2 separate regions of the Homo sapiens genome follow, and region 2 is linked to region 1. Evidence: promoter capture Hi-C in 16 types of primary human blood cells and fetal thymus (Javierre and others, 2016). All regions are on one chromosome and are shown on one strand. Each heading gives the region's core, a stretch centred on a gene start or on the middle of the fragment in contact. The rest is flanking DNA. Distances are from core to core; before and after follow the strand shown. Region 1 holds the start of PAPSS2 (3'-phosphoadenosine 5'-phosphosulfate synthase 2). Region 2 overlaps ATAD1 (ATPase family AAA domain containing 1).

Region 1 (5,966 bases), core at 2,086-4,585:
TTGAACTCGGGAGGCGGAGGTTGCAGTGAGACGAGATCGCTTCTCTGCACTCCAGCCTGGGTGACAGAGCGAGACTCCATCTCAAAAAAAAAAAAAAAAAAAAAAAGTGGCTACTTCTAGAAAAATAATGTTATACTGTGCACAATTCTGAAAATAAGGAAAAGGTAATTAGCAGGGCATGATGGTGGTGCCTGTAATCCCAGCTACTTGGGAGGCTGGGGCAAGAGAATGGCTTGAACCCGGGAGGCGGAGGTTGCAGTGAGCTGAGATCATGCCACGCTACTGCACTCCAGCCTGGGTGACAGAGTGAGACTCTGTCTCAAAAAAAAAAAGAAAGAAAGAAAATAAATAAGGAAAAGGTTGATAATCCCTTACATCTATGGAGAGCGCTGTGGTTTTCAGTATCTTTTCACTCCTTTCCAATTGTTTTCCTATTTGATCCTTCGGAAATAACTTAATATCTCAGTCAATGTTTTCAGATTGGGTGTCTCCAGAACATAACAGCACTGTCTGTGGGCCTTGAAAAATGTTAATCCAGGAAATGATGTAAGAGGAAAGGCCCAGGCCTTTGCCTTCCCTTCTTTCCAGTCCCCTAGAGGCAGTCTGTCCCTTTCCCTCTCCTAGGTGTCTATGTGTGTGTATAGGGGGTGGGGGTGGGAGGGTAGCCAGGGTTGGAGGTAAGTGAGGGGTGGAAATGATGAAGGGATGAATGTGACTGGTAGCTGTTTCTTTGGTTTCCATGGTAAAGATGCATAAAACAGAAGGAATGTGCTACCTTCCTTTATAAAAGAACACTTAATTTATTTTTTCTAAAGCTTATGAAAAAGTCATCCTACACTCTCTCATTTAAACCAAAACTATCTCCTCTTCCTAGAGTGGTCTGAACTGAAAGGCAATATTCATCCAGAGAGTGTGGCCAAAAAAACCTGGAAAAGAGGTATCTCCTTTTCCGCCTCCCCCACCCAGTATACCACCTGGCATACAGTAGGTGCTCAACAAATATTTGAAGTTACTGTAGTGGCTGCTGTGTGAATTAACTGTCCTCTGTTGACAGTGCAGTAAACAATGTGATGATTCCTATAAGACCGTAAAAGATCAGCTCAGTCTCACTCCTAGGCTAGCTTGTGAGGTCAGCAATACTTATCAAACAATTGATTAGTTCAGAGGTCACACAAGCGGACAGATTTTGCTTTGGCCTGCAAGGTTTCAAAACACATTTTGAATGAACATTCAAAGCTTGAGAGATTCCACATGCATTTACAGCTGGCTTGCTGTAAATAGTACCGATAGTACCTATCTAGCCCTTTTGGGAACTTGGGTTGGTGCCTGGGTTATAACTGCGTTAGACTAAATCAAAATTCAGAAAAGTTCTATTTCAGTTAGCTGTTTCAGGAGTTAATTTAATGCTGTATAAAACAGACACACACATACACCCACCTAACAAAAAATAGAAGGTTCAGAATGTGTAAATACAAAAACCAAACCCTCCGGCCCTCAAATTTCTCACTGCTTCTGACTGTGCAGAGCCCCCGCAATTGATTTGTAATGACCCTGTTCTCAAACCCTCCTCTTCCTGGGCTCCTGCCGACTGGAGGCATCAAGAGGAGAGACCACCTCGTCCCTTTCTAATGCTTGACAAAGTCCCCCATCACAACTGAGAAGGAATTCTTGATGCAAGCAGGAAGGTGGGAATTAAAACCCCACTGATATAAAAAGCTACTGGCACAGCGGCTTGCCATTTAGAAGACACTATTTAGGATTTTACAGAAATTAATCGCATTAAATAGGAACAAAATACAAGTGATTTTCATTTATTATTTCAAAAATATGTTACAACGCTGAGAGTCCCCCACTTAAAAATTACTCCTGAGAAAGGCAGCTGGATTTTGATAAATGTCCCTTCCCAAATTGATGCCACCTACACCCTGGACCCTCCTGCTGGTCCAGTATGGTCCCTGGAGCCACAGAGCCCCCACCCTGTTCTCTTGCTGCTCAAATGACCCTTCTAGCCCTGCATGGCCCCTCCACACTCCTTCCCCACTTCTTGGCTTTATATTTTGTTTTTTTTTTTAAACCTCTCCCCGGCCCACCACAAATACACCTCAAAGATATTTCGGTAATACACATTATATAAGAATAAACATTTATCAGGCACCTACTATGTGTCCATTGCACGTCTATCTACTAGAGAGAGGTCAACCCATTCAGTAACCAGTACAATCATCTGAGGCTTGCAGGGTGGTGGCTGAAGATAGAATGTTCAGCGGCCAAACTGCTGAGTAGGATTTTATCAAGGCTTGCTGACCACATCTGACGTGGCCCCAGTGCTGTCTAGAAGGCGCCATCCAACTCTAAGAGTCTATGATTACTGCTCCCGGTTTTTTTTTTTTTTTTTTTTTTTTTTTTTTCAGTTTATTGGGGTATAATTGACAAATAGAACTGCTGCCATTTTTAAGAATGCAAAATTTATAGGTGCCCATGTTGCTGGGAAAGAAACTTTTCTCTTTGACACGCCCTCATATTTCCCATTAAAGGAGGACAGCTCAGATTATTAATTCTGGGTAAAAGTGTGCCTCCTCAACACAGTCCCCTCATCTTACTCCACCAAACCGAGGGGCACCCTCACCCCTCATTACTGAACTCGAGATGCCACCCAATGCCGAAATCAAGCTAGAGGGCTAAATCCCGCCAGTGTAGAAATGCAATTTCCTCCAGTTTGCTTTGATAATTGCAGTTTCCTCTATGAAAGTCCGTCATTAAAGCCCACTCCAAGGAAGTTCCCATAGACAAAACCCCAGCGACCAGACCTGGCAGAACGGGAGTCAGCTCGATCTGCTCCGAGACCCTACAGAAGAAAAGGCGGGTCTGGAAGAGCTCTTGGGAAAGAAAGGGGATTTCCTGTCCCTGGTCCTGGATCTAGATCCGGACCCACTTGAGAAGCTCGGGAGGTCTCTCGCGGGCGCGGCGACCCCAAGGAGCGCAGATTCCCAGAGTCGCGGGGTGGAGAGGGGCTGCGGGGCGAGGACTGCCCCGGGAATTCCACACAGAGCCTCTTTCTCTTGCTTCCCTCCGTGCCCCACTCTTACTCCTCCTCCCGACGCCCCCTCCCGGGGAGGGTGGGACCCAAGTGCCGGGGAATTGGGGGTTGGGGGTCGGCGCGTGCAGTGCGGTGGCGGGGAGGGAAGCCGGCGCCTGGAAGCCTACCGTCTTTTGCTTCTTGATCCCCGACATGCTGGCTGGCTGCGGCGGAGCCCGGGTCCCGGGAGCAGAGACCGAAGGACGCAGGGACGGCGGCGGCGGCGGCGGCAGCAGCAGCAGCAGCAGCAGCAGCGGCTGCCGGACTCCCGGGAAGGAGGTATAAAAAGGCTCCGCAGACACGTCGCACTTCCCTTGACCAGCCCCCTTCTCCTACTCCTCCTCCCGCCACGCTCCTCTCCGCCCCGTCGGTTCCGCAAGCAGCGCCCAGCCTTGGGGACCCGGCCGCCGCCGCCTAGGCGGGGTCCCCGGCCCGGCCCCTACTCGCGGGCGCGCGCTCCGCCAGCCCCGGTCCCGGGCGAGACCTTGCAGCGGAGCGGCAGATGGCACGCCCGGCACGCGGCCTGGGGTCAAGTTCACCCCGCCCGCCCCACCCCCAGAGGGTCCCAGAGCGTCCTCCACTCCCCTCACCAGCCTCCCGCGCCTCTTCAAGGAAGTCTTCCTGCCTCTAGGACCTAAGAGCTTATTTGGTTAAGGGCAAGGATGCTTGAAGCCGCCAGGTTTGTTGGCAGGATCCTCATATGCAGTAGTAAAAACGAAGGTTCACACTCATGGATCCTTACAATGCACTCCGCTGGGCTCTGCCTTAATTCTCATGGGCCCCCTCCATCCTGCCCCGACCCCGGGCAGCAAGTCCTACTATCTTCCAGTTTTACAAACGAGCAATTGAGGCTTTCAGACTTTGCCAAGATTATATTCCAAATGAGGGGATTCAAACCCAGGCTGACAGCCTCCTCAGTGCAGGCTTTCTTCACCAGCATCATCACACATGGTGATAACTCCCAAGGTTCACAGCTTGTCTGTTCACTATGCATCGTGCTGAGGGGCTTCCATGCACTTCCTCCATTCCCGCTCACAACAGTATCGTCAGGTTACAGGTATGGGCCTGTGGAGGCACGGCCCCTCCTCACAACGACAAGCAAGTGGCAATGGCCAATGGAAGCCCAGCAACTTGTTTCAGTCCACCCCCAAAGTAGCACTTCTGTTCCACTGGAATGGGCCCTGAGGAGGAGGAAAAGGAGGCACAAGATGAGCAGGCTTAGGCCTAGGGCGCCAAGATTTTACCAGAAGGCAGTATGGGGCAACCCTCTGAACGAACCCAAAGGCAGTATGGGGCAACCCTCTGAACGAACCCAAATGTCAAGGCCAAGTAGAGGTGAGGGAGAGAAGCTCTAGTGACAAGCACTTTGGGGGCAGTCACTGGGTCTCACACCCCTTGTACCTTAACTGACTCCTTGTGTAATGCTACAAACGGATGGATATGACCATACTCTCAAAAGAAGTAACGTAACACACAAGGGCCACACTTCTCATTCCCACTCTAGTGTTCCTGCTGTGAAAGAGTTGGAGTAATATTCTATGGAGGTGAGGGATGGGACTTTTCTTTCATACCTAATTGTATTTCTGGAAGACTGCCAGCTTTCCAGACAGACACTTGATCTGAGTATTCATTGACTGCCCTTCGCCGTGGGAAGGTGGGAAAGAAAAATAAATCAGGAGTCAGAAACGTAAAAGGCAGCCTGCATGTCTGTACAGTCTAGAGTTGTAAGCTGATTTATTTTCTTACTCATTTTGAGTAAACTGCCACCACTGCCTTCCAATGTAAGCAGCTAGGGGCAAATACTGAGTTTGAGTTTCTGTTCTGCATACAAACTAGCACATTTTAAATGTATATGAAGTTTAAATAGCAACATCCTATTCTTATTTCATTGGAAAAATCCTTTTATATTAGTTTCCACCATATCTTAGACTCTGCCAGATCTTGCCCTAAGAAAAGGTAAAGTAAATGTGAATTGAAAAATAGCAATTTGCGGCCTGGCACGGTGGCTCATGCCTGTAATCCCAGCACTTTGGGAGGCCGAGGCAGTCAGATCACCTGGTATCAGGAGTTCGAGACTAGACTGACCAACATGATGAAACCCTGTCTCTAATAAAAATACAAAATTAGCCAGATGTGATGGCATATGCCTGTAATCCCGGCTACTTGGGAGGCTGAGGCAGGAGAATCGCTTGAACCCGGGAGGCAGAGATTGCAGTGAGCCGAGATTGCGCCATTGCACTCCAGCCTGAGTAACAAGAGTGAAACTCCATCTCAAAAAAAAAAAAAGAAAAATAGCAATTTGCGTGATTGTTATTTTGTTTTTATATTGCATCTAAAAACAAAAAGCTGTCTTCTTGAAACAGGAAGTTAAGGACAAATACGTAAGCTACTTCCTGGAAAAGAAATATATGATTGTTTAGATCTGGGAGAGGTTGTGAGATCATTTGTCCAATTTCCCCATTCCTGTATTTTACATATGAGCAATGTAAAACTGGCGCTTAGGGAAGGGAGGGCATCTGACCGTAGTCACTAGTTAGGAGCAGAGCTGAGGCTTTAACGCAGGTCAGCCTGACTTCCCAAGTGCTCTGACCCCAAATGTCCTGCCCACTGAGTCACCCAACTTCCACGCCAACTATTTCAATACCCCATGATAACTGTAAACAGGACTGCTTATCTTGTTTTAGATTTCATTCATTCTCAAAAATTATTTTGGAATAGGCATTCTTTTACTGTGAAAATGGAGGCCTCAGTTCTTTTGGACTCAAGCTAGGCTGTTTATGACCCTTTGATGTCACAGATCACCAATTTAGTCGTGATTCAGCACAGCAGTTTACTAAAAAGCAAAACACTCTTTTTTTATTTTCTCAGGGTCTTTCCTTTTAAAGGCAAT
Region 2 (5,966 bases), core at 941-3,440, 98 kb before region 1:
AGCAAGCATGTCTTACCATGGCAGAGCAGGAGTGGGAGAGAGTGAAGGGGGAAGTGCCACACATTTTTAAACCATCAGATCTTGAGAGAACTCACTCACTATCATGAGAACAAGGGGGAAGTCTGTCCCCATAATCCAATCACTTCCCACCAGGTCCCTCCCCCTAACACTGGGAATTAAATTCAACATGAGACTTCGGTGGGGACACAGAGCCAGACCATATCAGGGTCTCATCATTTGCCCCAGCTGGTCTTGAAATAAAATTATAAGTGTAAAATGCTTAGAGTACATAGATGTTATTTACAAGTATACTATTAATGGTGGATATAATAATAAACAACTGCATAAGTAAGTATCATTCTTTCAAGCTATTTTAGAAGTCTGTTAACTTATTCTGCTGTTGCTGCCTATACTCAAAAGCTTTTTAACTTGGGAATTGCCTTCAGAGTTGCCTAATGAAAAGAGTTCTCATTATTTCATGGTTTATCTAAAAGCTATTATCTTAGAACAAAATGAGCTACTTTTAGAGTGCTTGCTATGTGCCAAGCATTTTGGTGAGCTATACATTGTTTTATTTAATCCTCATTTATCTAAGGAGTACATATTAGTCCTATTTTACAGCTGAGGAAACTGAAACCCAGAGAAGTTTTGTAATAACTTGCCCAGGATTACACAAAGAAGTGATGGAGCCTACTCTTAACCATTAGGGTATGGTACCTCTTAATTAAATCTTGCTCCCCCAGTGACTGGAATCTTCTTTTCTTTGTTTTCTTATACTTGGTTGGTTCATCTTTCTAACTGTATCATCTTATCAGGCACAAGATTTGTGAGTGGTTAGAACATAGGGTGGCCCAACAACGGAGTGGTCAAAAGACAGGAGGAAGTGTTGGATGTTTAATTTTTAACATCTCAGAGTATAGTTTGGAAAGCTCTTTAAAGTAGTTTGTTAAATGTATGAAATATTTCAAACATATAAACAAATAGCCCCATTATCTTCCACCCATATTTAACAGGCAATTTTAATATATTTCCACATTTGCTTCATTTTTTTTTTAATTAAGTACAGCCTTAAGCAACCACTGGCCACTTCCCATTATCACCGTCATTGGTAACCTGCTGTCCAGGAGTTGATAGAGTTTATCAATCCCGTGAATATATGTGAACAGATACCTAATGCATGTGTATAGGTATATGTTATTTTTATTCTTTTTACAAACAGTAGAAAAATTAGATCCTTGTATGTGTCTGTTTCTTAAGGACACATGAGAAGAGTTTCTCAATTCACAAAAAATTAAAAACTACAAAGGAAAGAGAATAGAGAAGTCTGACTATAATCAGACTTAAAGCTTCTGTGTCACGGGGTAACATGAACAAAGTGAAAAAACAAGCCACAATGAAAATATTTGCAACCCTATAACCATCAAAGGACTAAGATCTAAATTATATACATGTATGTACATGAGATCACAGGTGCTGTCACCGGTCCTAAGAACTCACTGATGTGGCAGTACATGAGACATAAGTTAAAAATCTTCCAGTATTGTGAATTTGCCCATTTTTATATGTAATTATATAAATTTCTGCTGTATATGTTTTGAGGCCATGTTACATGTATGTCTACAGGGGCAGAATTGTTGTATTTTTCTGGTGAATTTTTTTTTATCATTATATAATGACTTCTCAATTATGCATTTTGAGTAAAAATCTGATGTAACTAGAACTACATTAGCTTTCTTTTTATTAATCGTTGATGTCTTTCAGTCTTTTACTTCCTGCTTTTCTTTGTTTTTATTTCAAATGTAACACAAAGACTGTTTTTTTCCCTTTAGCATAAGTATTGTCTATTATAAACCTCAAATAGCTACATTTTGGGTTCTTTTGTATAAAATCTTTTACCAGCCAAGTTTAGTCTATTTGCATTTATGGTAATTACTCATAAATTTGGATTCATTCATTATTATTTTAATGCTTTCCATTTATTATGCTTTTTCTTTGCTTATTTGTCCCAACCCTCTAGTCCTGAGTTTGTTAATACTGCTCTTGTATTCTTTATTCTGTTTTTCTCCCTTCCTCTATTGGTTTGGAAATTACACATTCTCTTTCTTCCTTTAGTGTACCCTTTCTATCCTTTAGTGGTACCTATGTATTTTGACATACATACATAAAGTCTAAGTTAATAATATCTGTACCCTCTTTTTAATGCTTTAATTGTAACACTTTAGAGTACTTTAATGTAGATGTCTCCTCTGTCTTACATGTCCTTATTGTACAGCATTTTAGCTCCACTTTGTTTTTGTACCCCAAATGATTATGACTACTATAATAACTATTATTACTACTATTTATATAGCTAAAGTTTATTTAGATTTATCCATGTATTTACCATTTGCTTTGCTTATCATTGCTGCTTGCACTCCTGCCCTCTGGGTTCAGTTTCTTTTTATCAAAAAACATGATTTATCTTCATGTAACCCTCATGTTTAGGAATGAGAGCACTGTCATGTGAGGTCACAGTTGCAGAGCTGGCAGTGTTGTCTCACCTTCAAGTCTCTTGTCCTTGTGTAGAGTTGCTGTTCTTCCTAAAACACTGTGTCTTCCACGTATACAAATGGGAATTTAGTAAATATAATACAAATACAAATGGGAATTTAGTAACTATAAGGTGTCATTTCACATCAGTGGGGGAAAGTAAATGTTGCTGTAACAAGTGATGAGCTGAACAGGGGAAAAATACAGCTGGACCTCACTATATTGTGTTCAAATCCTGGCTCTGACCGTGTTTACCTGTCCAGGTCTCATGATTCTTATCTGAAAATGAAATTGATAGTTTCTGAGAAGATTAAATGAGAATAATACATGCAAAGTGCTTACCCCAGTGAATGAGACATAAGAATCATTTACTAGATGGTAGTTATAGATTTTTTTCTTGCTTATTTTCTCTTCTTAATCTGTACATAAGTTTAGTATGATTAGACTATCTCAAGTCTATTATGTGGCTAGGACAGTCACTTAATTGGCTTGACTATAAGCTTAGCTTGAGGAGCAAAAGTATAGGTGCTAAATTCATGTTGAGATAATAGAATACCAAGCATTACAATTAAAAGGAATGTTGAGTGTTTTGTTTTTTTTTTTTTGTAATGGACTCTTGATGTAGGTTATTTGCCAAGTACTGTATGTTGAATGTATTACAGAAAAATGTCACCTTGGTACCTTCTTGAGAGATATCAAAGAAAGTCCAATATCCGTTCTTCCCCATCACTCTACAGTGTATCTAGTAATAATTATTTGTCTTAATCATAAGGACAAATAATGAAAATTATATTTCAAATTTCTAAGCTTTTGTGGTTAAAAAAAGCTTCTAGAAACTATTGTTTCTCCTCCCATGCAGTTATAATATGCTTAACTTTCTTTAAGATGGGTGTTTGGTAGTATCATTTACAATATATTTATTTTTGTTTTTTAAGCATGTTTTTATATTTGTTTAAGGTGGATAGGCATGTAGACCTGCTAGAAGTTGCCCAGGAAACTGATGGGTTTTCAGGAAGTGACCTAAAAGAGATGTGTCGAGATGCTGCCCTCCTCTGTGTTAGAGAATATGTTAATTCTACATCAGAAGAAAGGTATGTTATTTTGACTTGATTTTTAACACTTGTCAAAATCTTTTAGAGCTTTTAGGTTAGTTTCTTTTATTTTGCTTTATATTAGAAACACCGCTTATGAAATAAAAGGTAAATTTGGATTATCACCCCCTGCAACTTTATTTATTGCCATTTTTCCAAAGCAGAATTCTGAAAATGAAGGAGGGCAGAATTGTGGGAAGGGTCTAGAATGAAGGAGAAAAAAGGTGAATTTCTTCTGATGATCCGTGGAAATTTCACATGTAAATGTGAGGGGAAATTTCCCATGTAAATTGGAGATATTGAAGACTAGACCTCAATTTGTTAACGAAAATGTATTTACTGAACAAAGAAACCATTTATCACTGCAGCAATTTTACTTGGAACCAGTTCCAAAGTATAGTGAAGTTGAGAATCCAATTTTTTTAACAGCCTTATTTCAGCAAAGATACTAATGAACTGGAATAGTTCAGCCCTGGTGAACCATGTCCTAAAGGAAGTTTCCTAAAATGCCACTTGCCTGGAACCAGTATTATACTGCATTTCTTTTCAGAATATCAGCCTTCTAACAATTTCTGTGATTCTTGGTGAACTCCAGTGTACTTTTAGGGGTTGTGTTAAAGGAATTCTCCAACTCTTGTCCCTTTGTCTCTTGGTCTCCCTTCCTCACCTTCCTAGGGATTTCACTCCTTGCCTGTGGTATTCATATATTTAATTGCAGTGTGTTGCCATAGCAAACTTCAGCAAAAAAATGTTTTGCGAGCTTTGATATAGAAAGGTCTGCATGAAAGCTACTCTGTCAACTGGTAGCTGTATATGCAGTGGCTCTGGTCTCATCATCGTTAGTGCACCCTCAGAATCTACCTTCCAAAGGTTTTATTCTTTTTTTTGAGACGGAGTTTCGCTCTTTTGCCCAGGCTGGAGTGAAGTGGTGTGATCTCGGCTCACTGCAACCTCTCTCCCCAGGTTCAAGCGATTCTCCTGTCTCAGTCTCAGCTGGGATTATAGGCGCCCATCACCATGCCCGGCTAATTTTTGTATTTTTAGTAGAGACGGGATTTCGACATGTTGGCCAGGCTGGTCTCGAACTCCTGACCTCAGGTGATCCACCCGCCTTGGCCTCCCAAAGTGCTAGGGTTACAGGTGTGAGCCACCGCTACTGGCCAGGTTTTTATTCTTATATATAAGATTAAGAGGAGAAATAACCAACCAGTTCGTAAATTTTGCTTAGGTAAATTACACTAATAATGAAAGATCTATTTTTTTGCTGCCTCAAAGCCCTGAAAACTGTATTTCAGTATGAAAAGTCTGGCTAGTTTTATATTTCCTGAATTTCATATTTTATAATTTTATATTTCAGTATGAAAAATCTGGATGGACTTGGGTTATAACTTTTTCCTGAATGTTTTTCCCTGAATATCTGTAAATTACAAGGGAGCCATAATATTCTGGACTTTGTTTCTCATTGAAGTAGGGAGGATTTGGATTAGTTGATTTTTACTGATAGTGAAGAATTTTACTCTCAATTTGTAAAAAGCAAAACATGCATGTAAGTATATACCTAGAAATGCTACTTTTTAATTACAGTTTTCATGGGAATAACGTGATTTTTTAAATTGGAATTATATTCCCATTTCAATAAACCATATAACATTTTTTACCTTATGGTAATATTGTGTACTTATAGATGTGAAGTCTTTGTAGCTATTTTAGCTTCCTACTTCTTAGCACTCAGTGCTTTTAAAAAATTCCTTATGATTTCTCTATGTGTAGATAATTCCTGGAAGCATTTACATGAAGCTGTTCATTGTGGTTGTCTTTGGGGTCTTGAATGGTAAAGAGATTTCATTTTTATACCCTTTTCTACAGTTGAAAACAAAATTTTTTTTTTACCACATGCATCTCTTTTAAATCTTGGTAAAATATTTTAGGGAGGCATATTCTAAAGTTATTTGAGTATTTGATGGTTTTGTTTGCATTTTAGCCATGACGAAGATGAAATTCGGCCTGTTCAACAGCAGGACCTGCATCGGGCAATTGAAAAGATGAAGAAATCAAAGGATGCAGCATTTCAGAATGTTTTAACACATGTTTGTTTAGATTAAGAGTAAAGATCATTTGTACAGTTCAGTGATCTAGTTTGGTGTGTCCTCTTATCAGTTAGTGGAAATAGAACGGAAAGAGTGCTCTTTAAACAATGAGGGAGCTCAGTGTTTATGGTTTTATACTCTGAATTCTAAGTTATTGAGATATAGTTGTTACATAGGTGGTATTACTGTTGGTCAAAAATCATGAGGAGGAACAGTTGAATCCAGCCTGAACGTGGGTGCTTGTGTTTGACCTTTTCAG

Evidence for each region. Contacts are between HindIII fragments. The CHiCAGO score rates a contact against its expected background, and 5 or more counts as called.
Region 2: a fragment that was not itself captured here is called in contact with the fragment with the promoter of PAPSS2 in region 1 in 2 of 17 cell types (megakaryocytes and endothelial precursors); the score reaches 5.1 in megakaryocytes.

What each region holds. Positions count from the first base shown.
Region 1 is chr10:87,657,247-87,663,212 of GRCh38, reverse strand. It overlaps PAPSS2 (3'-phosphoadenosine 5'-phosphosulfate synthase 2), which reads right to left and starts at 3,335. Exons shown (of 13, transcript NM_001015880.2): 1 at 3,205-3,335. The coding sequence starts at 3,231. RefSeq lists a silencer at 3,348-3,587. The HindIII fragment of the contact is 6,673 bases long and covers 1,239-5,966 here.
Region 2 is chr10:87,754,443-87,760,408 of GRCh38, reverse strand. It overlaps ATAD1 (ATPase family AAA domain containing 1), which reads left to right. Exons shown (of 10, transcript NM_001321967.2): 9 at 3,487-3,620; 10 at 5,602-5,966. The coding sequence ends at 5,722. Among named protein-coding and RNA genes, the nearest start is that of ATAD1, 61 kb to the left of the region's middle. The HindIII fragment of the contact is 1,683 bases long and covers 1,349-3,031 here.